Regions from separate parts of the Homo sapiens genome. Here all the other regions are linked to region 1. The links are contacts of gene promoters, found by promoter capture Hi-C in blood cells and fetal thymus (Javierre and others, 2016). All regions are on one chromosome and are shown on one strand. Each heading gives the region's core, a stretch centred on a gene start or on the middle of the fragment in contact. The rest is flanking DNA. Distances are from core to core; before and after follow the strand shown. Region 1 holds the start of FAM83D (family with sequence similarity 83 member D). Region 2 has its middle 20 kb from the start of SLC32A1. Region 3 holds the start of SLC32A1 (solute carrier family 32 member 1). Region 4 overlaps ACTR5 (actin related protein 5).

The links. The method cuts DNA at HindIII sites, captures the fragments that hold promoters and counts their contacts. A CHiCAGO score of 5 or more calls a contact.
Region 2: a contact is called between a fragment that was not itself captured here and the fragment with the promoter of FAM83D in region 1, in 1 of 17 cell types (total CD8 T cells). The highest score is 5.9, in total CD8 T cells.
Region 3: the fragment with the promoter of SLC32A1 here is called in contact with the fragment with the promoter of FAM83D in region 1 in 2 of 17 cell types (activated CD4 T cells and total CD8 T cells); the score reaches 8.2 in activated CD4 T cells.
Region 4: a contact is called between a fragment that was not itself captured here and the fragment with the promoter of FAM83D in region 1, in 7 of 17 cell types (total CD8 T cells, total B cells, activated CD4 T cells and 4 more). The highest score is 8.5, in total CD8 T cells.

The regions. Positions count from the first base shown.
Region 1 is chr20:38,924,993-38,927,955 of GRCh38, reverse strand. It overlaps FAM83D (family with sequence similarity 83 member D), which reads right to left and starts at 1,539. Exons shown (of 4, transcript NM_030919.3): 1 at 1,031-1,539. The coding sequence starts at 1,513. RefSeq lists an enhancer at 1,352-1,451 and a silencer at 1,562-1,921. The HindIII fragment of the contact is 27,857 bases long and covers 1-2,963 here.
Region 2 is chr20:38,703,017-38,705,979 of GRCh38, reverse strand. No RefSeq gene overlaps it. Among named protein-coding and RNA genes, the nearest start is that of SLC32A1, 20 kb to the left of the region's middle. The HindIII fragment of the contact is 3,871 bases long and covers 1-2,963 here.
Region 3 is chr20:38,722,972-38,725,934 of GRCh38, reverse strand. It overlaps SLC32A1 (solute carrier family 32 member 1), which reads right to left and starts at 1,449. Exons shown (of 2, transcript NM_080552.3): 1 at 821-1,449. The coding sequence starts at 1,210. The HindIII fragment of the contact is 3,119 bases long and covers 1-2,466 here.
Region 4 is chr20:38,752,501-38,755,463 of GRCh38, reverse strand. ACTR5 (actin related protein 5) reads right to left here. Exons shown (of 9, transcript NM_024855.4): 4 at 290-507. Among named protein-coding and RNA genes, the nearest start is that of ACTR5, 5.5 kb to the right of the region's middle. The HindIII fragment of the contact is 687 bases long and covers 1,223-1,909 here.

The DNA.
Region 1 (2,963 bases), core at 290-2,789:
TAGGACCAAAACCCACTATGAATACAGAAGCCGATCTAATGCAAATGTATCTGCATTTTAGGAGACCACTGCAATCTGGCACAGACCCAGCCTATGGAAAACAAACCCCTTGCCCCAGTTTCCCCTCCAGTCTCTGGCAGTAGAAAAAGCGGCAGGGGGCCGGGTGCGGTGGCTCACGCCTGTAATCCTAGCACTTTGGGAGGCCGAGGCGGGTGGATCACCTGAGGTCAGGAGTTCGAGACCAGCTTGGCCAACATGGAGAAACCCCGTCTCTACTAAAAATACAAAAATTAGCCGGGCGTGGTGGCGGGCACCGGTAATCCCAGCTACTTGGGAGGCTGAGGCAGGAGAGTCACTTGAACCCGGGGGACGGAGGTTGCAGTGAACTGAGATCCCACCACTTCACTCCAGCCTGGGCAAAAGAGAATCTGTCTCAAAAAAAAAAAAAAAAAAAAAAGACAAGAAAGAAAAAGCGGCAGGGCTCTCACTTTGCCACTCTCGTGTTTATCTGCTTTTTACAGCAAAAGATGCATGAAAGTAATTAGCAATAATAATTGCTTCCTAATGCCCCGTAGTTGTCTCTGGAGACCATCTTTCTGGAACTTTCCCTGCGTAAGTTCTTTGGTAATGAGTCTCCTAAGAAGCTCCTGAAAGTGGGATCTAGCGTTGGCTGACAGACAGGGAAATAGGCAATTTTCCAAGTTTGATTTTAACTGAAATTTGGAACTCAGAGTACTTCTGGTCCCTCCTTCAGGGATATGAACGTTAGGAGATGGAACCCGGGCACAATTCGCATCCTTGGGAACCGAGGCTTTCCCACTATCCCCTGCCACGAGGAGCGGCCCGGGGGATCCGGGGGAGACACGCAGAGTGGGGTGTGAGTCGGAGACCCTGGGACCACCTAGCCCGCGCGCGCTTCCGGTAGGGCGCAGAGGAGGTAGTGGCCCCGGCCCGTACTCCCAGCAGGCCTCAATTTCCCATTCTTGAAGGGGGTCTCCCGTGCGACCCAGGGCCCTGGAGGGCCGCTCACCTCTCGCGCCGAGCGGAGCTGCTGGCGCAGAGCGTCCTTGCAGCCGTAGGGGCCACCTTCGCCAGCGCCGCGGGGCTGGAAGTGCGTCTCGACACGCGTGGCGCCGCGGTAGGCGCCCTGGTAGAAGGCGGGCCAGCCAAGCTCCAACAGCGGTGGCTCCAGGTCCGACTGCTCGGGGAAGTAGGTGCCCGAAGAGCAGTCGTGCGAGGAGCCGAACGAGTCCTCGGCCGCCGCCGCCGCCGCCGCGCCCTCCTCTCCCGGCCTCTCCGCCGCGCGCAGAATGGCGTGCACCTCATCGGGGTTCAGGAAACGAGCCAGGCGCTCGCGTCGCAGGAAGGCCGCGAAGGCTTCGGGGCCGCCCGCCACCAGCTCCTCCAGAGCCAGGCGCCGTGACTCGCTGAACAGCTCGGTCGGGTTGGGCGGCCCGCACGGCGACAGGCAGGCGGCGGGCACCTCGTCCAGGCCCTCGGACAGCAGAGCCATGGCGGCGCTCGGACTCGACAGCCCTCGGACAAAAACCGGCGTGCAGTCCCGCTTTATAGGCAACCTTTGAATCAAACAGGCCCGCGCCATTGGCCGCACCTCCCCGCCTCGGCTCTCCCATTGGCTGCTTTCCTTCCAATAGCGGAGCGAGGCGGGGCGCAAGCCTCTACGGCTCCGCCCCCTGATGCGTTATTGGCTGCGATGCTGGGCTTGCTAAGAGGAATTTAAACTTGCAGGGGCGAGGCGGGCCGCAGAGCAGGGACAGAGCGGGGAGAGCCGAGCTCCTGGCCATCCCAGCGCGCCCCCTGCCGGTCGCCCCGCTGCGCGGCCGTGCAAGGCCAGGGACAGTCAGGCCTAGACAACGAGGAGAGGCAGGTGCCGACTCCCGGAGACTCTGGCCACGCTGCTCCTAGGCTCTCAGTGCTTTGGCATGGCCAACCATATCGCCTTTATCACCTGCCTTTAACCATGTATTCATTCATTCAAAGAATACCGGCTCATCGTATTAGGACTGCTCCTTTGATTACACCCTCGGGTAGTCTTCTCTCATTTCATCGATTTTTGCCTTGTAAAACCCCAACCAACCGTGGTTATACCCTACTTTCCACCTGCACCCCGGCAGCCCTACAGGGCTGAAGAAAAAACAAAAAGAGCGTAACCATGCTTACTGACTGGTCATGTTTTAAATTCATAATCCGTAAGACTGCCTGCTAGGAGGCCGGGCGCGGTGGCTCACGCCTGTAATCCCAGCACTTTAGGAGGCCGAGGAGGGCGGATCACCTAAGGTCAGGCGTTTGAGACTAGCCTGACCAACACGGTGAAACCCCGTCTCTACTAAAAATACAAAAATTAGCCAGGTGTCTTGGTGTACGCCTGTAATCCCAGATACTCGGGAGGCTGAGGCAGGAGAATCACTTGAACGCGGGAGGCGGATGTTGCAGTGAGTCGAGATAGCACCACTGCACTCCAGCCTGGGCGACAAGATCGAAACTCCATCTAAAAACAAAACAAAACAAAACAAAAGCAAACAAACAAAAAAACTGCCTGGTAGGCCGCATTTCCCTCATTCTCTCTACCTTTTCCTCTCTGACAGCTTGTCTTCCATGTCAGCAAGAACACAGAAACAGTAAGAAGGGAACGTCCACGTGCGGCCATCTAGTCTACCTTCCTGTCTGCATCTCTGCCCGTATACTGGGCATTGATGAACTGTGCCTGTGCCCATCCAACCCCAACCCCTCTGCCTGGGCATTTCCAGCCCCTCTACTACTCACCAGCATCGCTCCAGCAATCTTCTTCTTTCTCCTGGAACATCAGCTTCCCTCTTTACCGATTCATTTCTATCAGCCTACAAGCATGCTGAAATATTTTTCATCTTAAAACAACCCTCTCTTGACCCTACATTCCTCTAAAGCTCCCCATCTCACTTCTTATTTTTGCAGCATAGAATCTC
Region 2 (2,963 bases), core at 292-2,791, 220 kb after region 1:
CTGTCACCATCATTACTGTCACCACCATTACCAACACCATTGCTATCATCTGGGCCCCAAAACATTTGCTCAAATGCAAATAGGGTTCCCAATCATTTGGCAGTGGCTCGCAGGAGCCCTGGATTCTGATGATGAGTGTATCCTTAGTGGGAGGGAATATCATGATTACTTAGTGACGTCTCCCCTGGACACAGGAGGACAGAATGCCATGGACTGGTCATGCTGTCTTCAGTCCTTCTGGGTTGGAGATGAATGCTCAGGGTTAATTGACACCTCTGGTATTGGAAGCAAATATGGAATCTCAAACTAGAGACTTACAAGGACCCATAGGATACAGGTGTAAATTTACCCAATCGAAACCAGAGCTTACAGAGTCCTTCCTGCACCAAAAGTTGGAAGATTGGCCTGGACTTGAGAGGGGAATTAAAGGACCCCAAGAAGCTGCTACGTACTTAAGACCTGGAGTGGTCCTGAGCAGAACTGGCAGGGAGCTCAAAGGGGACAATGGGATATATCTGGCCCCAGAGGTCTTCAGTTGAGCCCCCTTGCCTGTGTGGAACACCCATCTGCTCTGCCATTGCTGGTTGAGGGATGTCTGGACTCACATCCTCCATCACCTTGGAACTTGCATTTTGGACAAGGCTGATGTCCTGAAAATTCTGCCACTGAGAATTGTTCTGATGAGGACACCTGAGAGAAAGGCTGAAGTTGGAGGCTTTTCCTCTGCAACCCTAAGGCCAAGGTCTCCCATGGCCCTGTCTTGGGCCACAGAGAACAACCGTCTCATCAGCCCTGGACCTCTATGACTCAGGTCCTCAATACAAAATTGTCAAACTGCAACTGACTAGTCATGAACCACCCAGAGCTGGGTCTTGGAGGATCCTGAATTATCCTGACAAGCCAGGCACTGTCAGGTCTGAGCAAAAAGTACATTCCCCTGTCACTGCTATGGTTAGAAAAATGGCAGAGGTTTTCTGTTTGATCTGTTTCGTGACAATGATTATGGCAATTTGGTGATGCTTTCATGAAATGTCAGTCACGTGCTAACCGTTTTGTGTTCATTATTTCACTGGGCTCTCATGACACCCCTGCCACGCAGGTATTCATATTCCATTTTACAAAGGAGAAAACTGGCCGGGTGTGGTGGCTCACTCCTGTAATCCCAGCACTTTGGGAGGCTGAGGTGGGTGGATCATTTGAGGTCAGGAGTTCGAGACCAGCCTGACCAACATGGTAAGACCCCATCTCTACTAAAAATACAAAAATTAGTTGGGTGTGGTGGTGTGTGCCTGTAATCCCAGCTACTAGGGAGGCTGAGGCAGGAGAATCGCTTGAACCCAGGAGGCGGAGGTTGCAGTGAGCTGAGATAATGGCACTGCACTCCAGCCTGGGTGACAGAGTGAGATTCTGCCTCAAAACAAAAAACAAAAACAAAACAAAACAACAACAACAACGAAACAAAGGAGAAAACCAAGGCTCATAGAGTTGAAATGGCTTGCCCAAGGTCACATAGCTAGTAGGTGTCACCACCGAGTTTCAACCCCAGGCCTGTCTGACTAGGAGCTCAAGAGCACTACAGCCTCATCTCACTCCCAGGCATGTGCCTCGTTGTCATCCCCCAGGCATCTGAAAGTCCATCCTGCCCCTCTGCATAGGGCACATGCTAATGTGTCACTGGGAACATCCTGGGCCACTTCTCATCCACTGAAAGGGGAAAACTCATGGCGAAGGAGTGGGGGATGTCAAGTGTGGTAGGAGCTGGAGAAGGCAGAAGGCATGTGTGGAAGATAGAGCTGGAAGGTAAGATAAAGTTGCATTGTGTTCTAAACATCAGGCATAGGGAGCCACGGACTGGAGCAAGTTCATGGAGGTGGGCTCACTTCAGGTAGCTTAGGTGTAGAGTTATGTGAGGGAGACATAGTTCCCCAGAGAAAGTGTTGTGGCTAAGAGAATAGGGGAAAGGGATGTCCCAATTTGAAGGGGCCTCAGAAGAGTTCTTGGAAGGGATGACACTTGGGTTGAGTCTTGAGGAAATAGAAGGAGTTGTTTAGATAAAAAGGGTGAAGGAGGGGCATTCTAGCAAGGTCCAGAGATGGGAAAGACCTGGTGCATTTGGGCAACTGCAACTGCAAGCCTTTTGATGTGGCTGGAGCCTGGGGCAGGCCGGAGAGGGGAGCAGGGACTCCTGTCCATAAGGGGGTCAGGCAGCTAAGGTTAAAGAAGAGGAGGGGTGAGAATTTGGGAGCTGGGCTGCTACAGGGCCAGACACTTCAGATCTGGAAGGGCCTGATGGGCAGGGGCTCAGTGTCCCAGAAGTCTCCTCCAGGGCATGCAGCAGGGTGGTGGAGTGAGGACAGGAGCAGGGTTTGCAGGAGTGACAGTGCCATCAACCCACCATATAGGGTGGGCCAGGGCATCGGGCCAAAGGGAGACTGCCCCCAGGAAAAGACGGGCCTGGGAAAGTCAGCTTTTTATACTCCATGAATCTGTGATCTAGATTTTGGTCAGTTCATGTCATTATCACCCCCATCATGTTACTAACACCAGCATCTCTTAGCTGAATTCTGGCCAATGTCTCCAGTCTGGACTCCCTGCTTTTGCCCCAACCCCTCCTGCAATCTCCACACAATACAGAATCTGGAGTGAGGCTGTTATGACATGGGTCAGATCCTGGCCTCCCCTGCTCAAAGACCTTCAGTGGCTCCCATCTCATTCAGAGCAATGGCCAAAGACCTTCAGGGTGGCCCACCAGGCCTTGTGGGATCTGCCTCCCCTACTCTGACCTCATTTCTTATCTTTCTCTTCATACCCAGCTTGCTGCTACTTGTCATTCTGGTTCTCTTCCTGCTTCAGGAATTGGCACTGACTATCCCCCTGCCTAGAACCCTCTCCTCCAGCATCCACATGGCTCACTCCCTCACCCCTTCAGTTTTTACTCAAATACTACCTTCTTGGTGCAGCCA
Region 3 (2,963 bases), core at 200-2,699, 200 kb after region 1:
GGCGAGAGGGGCGAGTCTGTGCACAGGTAATGCTGGATTATTGCGGACTAAATGTGTTTGTGTGGGAGCATGTGTGTGCTTTCGTGTGTGTATACCTGTATGTCTCCAACAGGGCCGCACCCAAGGGAGCAGGCTGGTTCCTGTCTGCATGCATCTGTGCATGTGTGTGTGCATATGTTCAAACGAATATTCGTGTGTTTGGTATGTGCAGGTATATGCTTTTGTTTGTGGAGCTGTAGGGGTGTACGCAGGTGCATTTGGGGATAGTACTGTGGTCTATATATAGATACATGTCGTGTGCGCCTGTGCCTGCGCCTTTGTTCGTGGGAAGGGGGGCTGTGGGCATGTGGTGTGCCTGCCTATATACGTGTGCGTGTCTATGCGTGTGTGCGGGGGGAGGAGACTCCGACCTCAGCGATTTCCCCTTCTTCTTTCCTCCCAAAAATGCAGCTGTGAATCCGTTCCAGAGTCCAAGACCAAACCGTGCCCTCCAATCCTGATTTTCTTTCTTTCTCATCGCTTCCTGCTCCCTCCCCCCATTTCCTTCACTTTTGCAGTGTCTCCGGACAGGTGTCTCAGACCGAACTTCAGCCTAGCGGTCTTGCAGCTGGTGCCGTTGGGAGGGAGCGTGGGTTAGGGCGGAAAACACCGCCTGGGGGCGTAGGTCCCCGCGCAGGGCTGGGAGGGATGGAGAAAGGGAGATTCCTGGGTACAGGAGGGGGTCTCCAGGCCGAGATCACCGGGCGACTGTCGGGGGCAGAGCCCGGCACGCTGAGCTGGGAGGGGGGAGGACAGGCAGAACTGGGAATCCCGCGCTTACCTGGATGGCGTTGGTCACGTTCCAGCCTGCCTCCCACGCCGTGATTTTGGGCTTGTCGTGGCCCCCGAATTCGCCACCACCTCCCACCTGGTCCTTGGAGCCGGAGGGCGGCAGAGGAGCTCCGCTGCCTCGCTGATAATGGATGTCTCCCTCGACGGGCGCTTCAGCGCCCTCGTCCCCGCAGGGCTCTCCCTCGGCTTTCAGGATGTCCATCTGCAGGCCCTGGCGGTGCTCAAAGTCGAGGTCGTCGCAATGCGCGAAGCCCACCGCCTCCTCATCCGTGGCCGCCTGAAAACCCATCCTGGCGAACATGCCGCTCATCTTGGCCTGGGACTTGTTGGACACGGACGTGGCCACGTTGGACAGCTTGCTGCGGAGCAAGGTGGCCATGGCGGCGGTGGGGACAGCGGAAAGGACAGAAGGACCCGAGGATGCGGGGAACGCGATGCAAGAAGGCGAGGGCTGGGGGGCGCAAAGTCGCTATCTCCGCTTGCTCTCCGCGCGGCGCCCCGGGGCTCTCTGGCTCATGACCCTCGCAGCTGGCGTTCGAGGCTCTCTCAGGGCTGGACCGGGCAAGCTGGCAGCAGGTCTGGCGGAGCGGCGGCGGCGGCGGTGGTGGCTAGTGCACTGCGGAGCTGCCGCGGGGCGCGAGCTGGGCTGCGGAGGGCGGCGGCGGCGGCGGCGGCGGCAGCGGCGTCAGAGCAGCTACGCGAAGCTGGCGCGGCGCCCCCACCCGTGCGCAGCCCAATGCGCTCCCGCCCCTCGGAATCAGGCGGTGCGGGGGTGGGGGATTGGAGAGAGGAAATACCCGGAGGCAGGGGACGTGAGGAAGGGGCTAGGAGAAGAGAAAGGGGGCGCCGAGGGATTCAGACGTGAGCTGGGGGCAGAAGAAGGGCGCCCTTGGGAAGGAGGCGGGAGGGAGCGCGTGAAAGAGGGAGCGCCGAGGGCAGGGGAGGTGGGGGGGCGAAGTGCTGCATTTCTAGGGGAGGTGCTAAGCTCGCATCCTGGCCCTTCCCACCTCGCCGCCGCAGGGTGGGAGGGGGCCGGCGTGGGCTGATGCTCGCAGTCTCCCACCCCCGGACCACCCCCTCCAGGGTCCGGGAGCTGTGCAGCCCCAGATCCTCTGGCTAAGGACTGGTCTGGGCGCCCCGAAAGCCCGCAGGACTGAGTTGTCAGTCTCTCGCGGAGCGGGTCGTCTATAAGTCAGTTTCCCTGGCACCCATCCTTCGCGCGTAAACCCGGCCGCGAGTCCCCCTTGAAGGTAGAAGTGGCTGGCATGGATCGCTCCCAAGGAAGCTCAGCCTCAGGCTCAGTCACCCGGGTTCTCTCCGCCCGTCCAGGGACGCCGCGAGGGAAGCGATTGTGCGGATCGCTCGCCACCAGCCGCTCTCCAAATGCGTGCAGAATGGAGGCGAAAGGTTGGCTTTTCTCTTTCTTTTCGTTTGGGGGTCTGGAAGAAGGCAGGACTCTATGAGGACACCTCTCGTCAGCCTCCTAGCGGGTCTGCGAATGCCCACGCCGAGAGGGGCGCAGACGGGGCCAGGCGCGGAGGAAAGAAGGGCTCGCGGCGCTGCAAGGCGGAGGAAGCAGAGGCTCGCGGTGCGCTGGGGCCCTGCTCCGACGGCCGCCTCCAGGCTGTGAAAGCTTGGGCTGTTTGTGTTGATTGGGGTACGGGTGTGTGAGCGCGAGTAAGGGAGAGACCCAGAGACAAAGACCGATGCTGTATCAGACTCTGCTTGAGGTTGGATCAGTGTGGCCTCTGAGAATGAGGTTTGGTAACCGCGTGTGTTCTGTGTCTGTGTGGTTTTGCGCGCATTCCAGTGTGTGTGCCAGAGCTAGTGTGTTGGATTACGTATGTGTTCCCGAATGGGGTTGCCTGCGTTCGTGCCTGTGTTAGTCCCTTTGTAGTAGTCTCCGTGAGGGTCCGCTGCTCTGAATGGGTCCCTGCGTAAGTCCCCAGCTGATGTCCTGGCCGGGCTCCTCCTGAGCAGTAAACCGCAGGGCTCCACCTGGCAGTCCCAGCCTGAATGGAGAAGTAGCGGCTGTGACTGGAAGTGGGGGCGGGGGCGGACGGAAAAACCGAAGGAAACAAAAAAGGAAGCAGCTCCCCATCTCCCCTCTCTCGAGGCCCTTTCTCCCTGGG
Region 4 (2,963 bases), core at 317-2,816, 170 kb after region 1:
ATGAAACATAAAGATTTGTGCACTTTGCATCATGTATGCTACACTTACAAAGTTTAAAAACATAAAGGAGTTTATAAGGTGAAAATAAATAATGCTGGAGTCCACAGCTCTTTCAGAAACAGCTGCTTCTACACTGTATTCTATGCTGATGATCCCCCTGGACTCCTTCGTGACCCCAAAGGTGACAAACAGTCAAAGCATCTTAAGGCCAATGGAAAAATATGCAAGAAAATCTTCTGAGACTATCTTGTTAACACGGAAGGGCGCCCGTCCCTGTGTCTGCTATTACCTGCACATATAGCAGTCGGTCCAGACGCTCCTGATCCAGCTGCAGCTTCTCCTCCCGCCGCCGGGCATTGAGCTCCTGCAGCCGCCGCAATTGCTGCTGCCGCCTTTCTTGTTTCTCCTCAGAGGTCAGAGTGCTGCCCAGGAGCTTGCTGGAAAATGGGAGCTGCATCTTGTGGACATTATTCTCATAATAATCAGGACACCGCCATTTGTGTAATTCTTCAAAGAAACAATTTTGAAAGTTATGAAATGGAAACACTATTAACACAACAATTAAAGTCAATACCAGCTGGGCGCAGGGGCTCACGCCTGTAATCCCAGCACTTTGGGGAGCCGAGGTGGGCGGATCACGAGGTCAGGAGATCAAGACCATCCTGGCTAACACAGTGAAACCCTGTCTCTACTAAAAATACAAAAAAATTAGCCATGCGTGGTGGCGGGCACCTGTGATCCCAGGTACTCGGGAGGCTCGCCCTGTCACCTAGCTGGAGTGCAGTGGTGCGATCTCGGCTCACTGCAAGTTCTGCCTCCCGGGTTCACGCCATTCTCCTGCCTCAGCCTCCTGAGTAGCTGGGACTACAGACGCCTGCCACCATGCCCGGCTAATTTTTTTGAATTTTTAGTAGAGATGGGGTTTCCCCATGTTACCCAGGATGGTCTTGATCTCCTGACCTCGTGATCCACTCGCCTCGGCCTCCCAAAGTGCTGGTATTACAGCTATGAGCCCCCATGCCCGGCCGACTCCATTGTTTTTTTTAAAGTCAGTACCAGCATTTCAGACATAGGTCAGATGGAGAAAATACACTCCATCCAATCCCTGAATCCACTCAATCAACTAAAAGCAGCTACCAAACCTGGACATAATGCCAGCAGGCCTGTTCTAAAAGAACTGCTAAGTAAGTTCTTCAGCGAGAAACAACACCAGAAGGAAGCTTGGAGCATCAGGAATGAAGGAAGAGCAACAGAAATGATAAAAATCTGGTTAAACATAACAGACTAATCTCCTTACGAGTTCTTTAAAACCTATTTGACAACTGAAAGTAAAAATCACAACACTGTCTGATGGGTTTCCAATGTATACAGATGAAATAAATAAGACAACTTTAAGATAAACCGGGCGAAATAAAGGAGTCTGTACATTGCTAACATTTCCACATTCCCCTTGAAGTGGTAAATACAGAATCTAAGTAGACTGTGAAAAGTTGTGTTTACTGTAATCTCTAAAGCAACCACTAAAAACTACAATAAAAAGGTAGAGTAAAAAACACAACAGATAAAATACTTTAAAAAAAAAAAAAAAAAGCTCGAATAACCTAAAAGGAGGCAGGAGAGAGAAACAGAGGAACAATAAACAGAAGGAACAAAAACAAATAATAAAATGGTGAACCTAAATCCAAGCATATGAATAATTAAAACTAATTATAAATGGTTTAGTCTAACAATTAAATAGAGGTTGACTGAATAGATTTTTTTTAAAAATCATCCAACTACCAAGAAATTCACTTTGAATATAATGATATAGGTAGATTAAAAGTAGAAGGACGGAAAGACATACCATGCAAGCACATGACCCAGCAATCTATTTACTCTGGAGAAATGAAAACAAGTTCACCCAAAAGCTTGTCTCTATCCCAAGCCCAGGCAATCTTTCCCTCACTTCTTCTCTATCACTATGGTTTTATCTTTTCAAAATGTCACATAAATGGAATCAAATAGTATGTACCTTTTGAAACTTTTTTTTTTTTTTACTCAACATCATGCCTTTGAGATTCATTCAAGTTGTTGAGTGTATCAGTAGTTTGTTCCTGTTTATTGTGGATAAAAACAGGATATGATTATAAAGAGAAAGCATATGTAATCAACACCACAATCAGGATACGGAAGAGTTCATCATCCCAAAAAATTCCCTCATGCTCTCTCTTTATAATCATATCATAGAATTGTAAAAGAAAAAGTTAACTAAAAAAAAAGAGTCAATACCAGAGCAACTGGAGAACAGAGAAGTGGGAGCACGGAGAGCTGTGTGCCTCAGCCGTGTCTTCTGGCAAGCCTCTAACTCTCCGGACTGAGTGTCCTCATCAATTATTTATTTCCCTATCTGTCTCCCGCAACTTCTTTGTATCCCAGGAATAACAGATGTTTAATAAATGCTTTCTAAAGTTAATTAAAACACAGCTCTTCACACATGAAACGTATACTTAAAAATGGTTAAAATGGCAAATTTATGTTATATGGTTTTCACAATTAAAAAAAAAAGATGCAGTTTTTGTCCTTCAGGAGCTCATTATTGGTCAGCTGAGATCAGTACCCTCAATGACAACAAGCAAATCCATTCTTGGAATAGAGTTGTATTCACAGTGGCATTGTCCGTAGTCCTTTGGTTTTATATGAACTATTTAAATTCACGAGGAAGATATTTTCATCACATTCATGTGACAATAGCAACTAAAACTCATACTTTAATTTGAAGTAAAATACAACCAAAAGTCCAAGACAAGTTTGAAAAGAAAAAGAGGTGTTTCTGCAGCATAGATGTTATTATAAGGGTATAATAAAACAATTTCAATTGTTTTCTAGCTTAAGATATTTTTAGTCTGATATGTTCTGCTCACTCTTAAAAATATTTAATATCTGGAAAAGCTGAAAGTTGTGCAATTCCAAGTTCTGTATTAAAG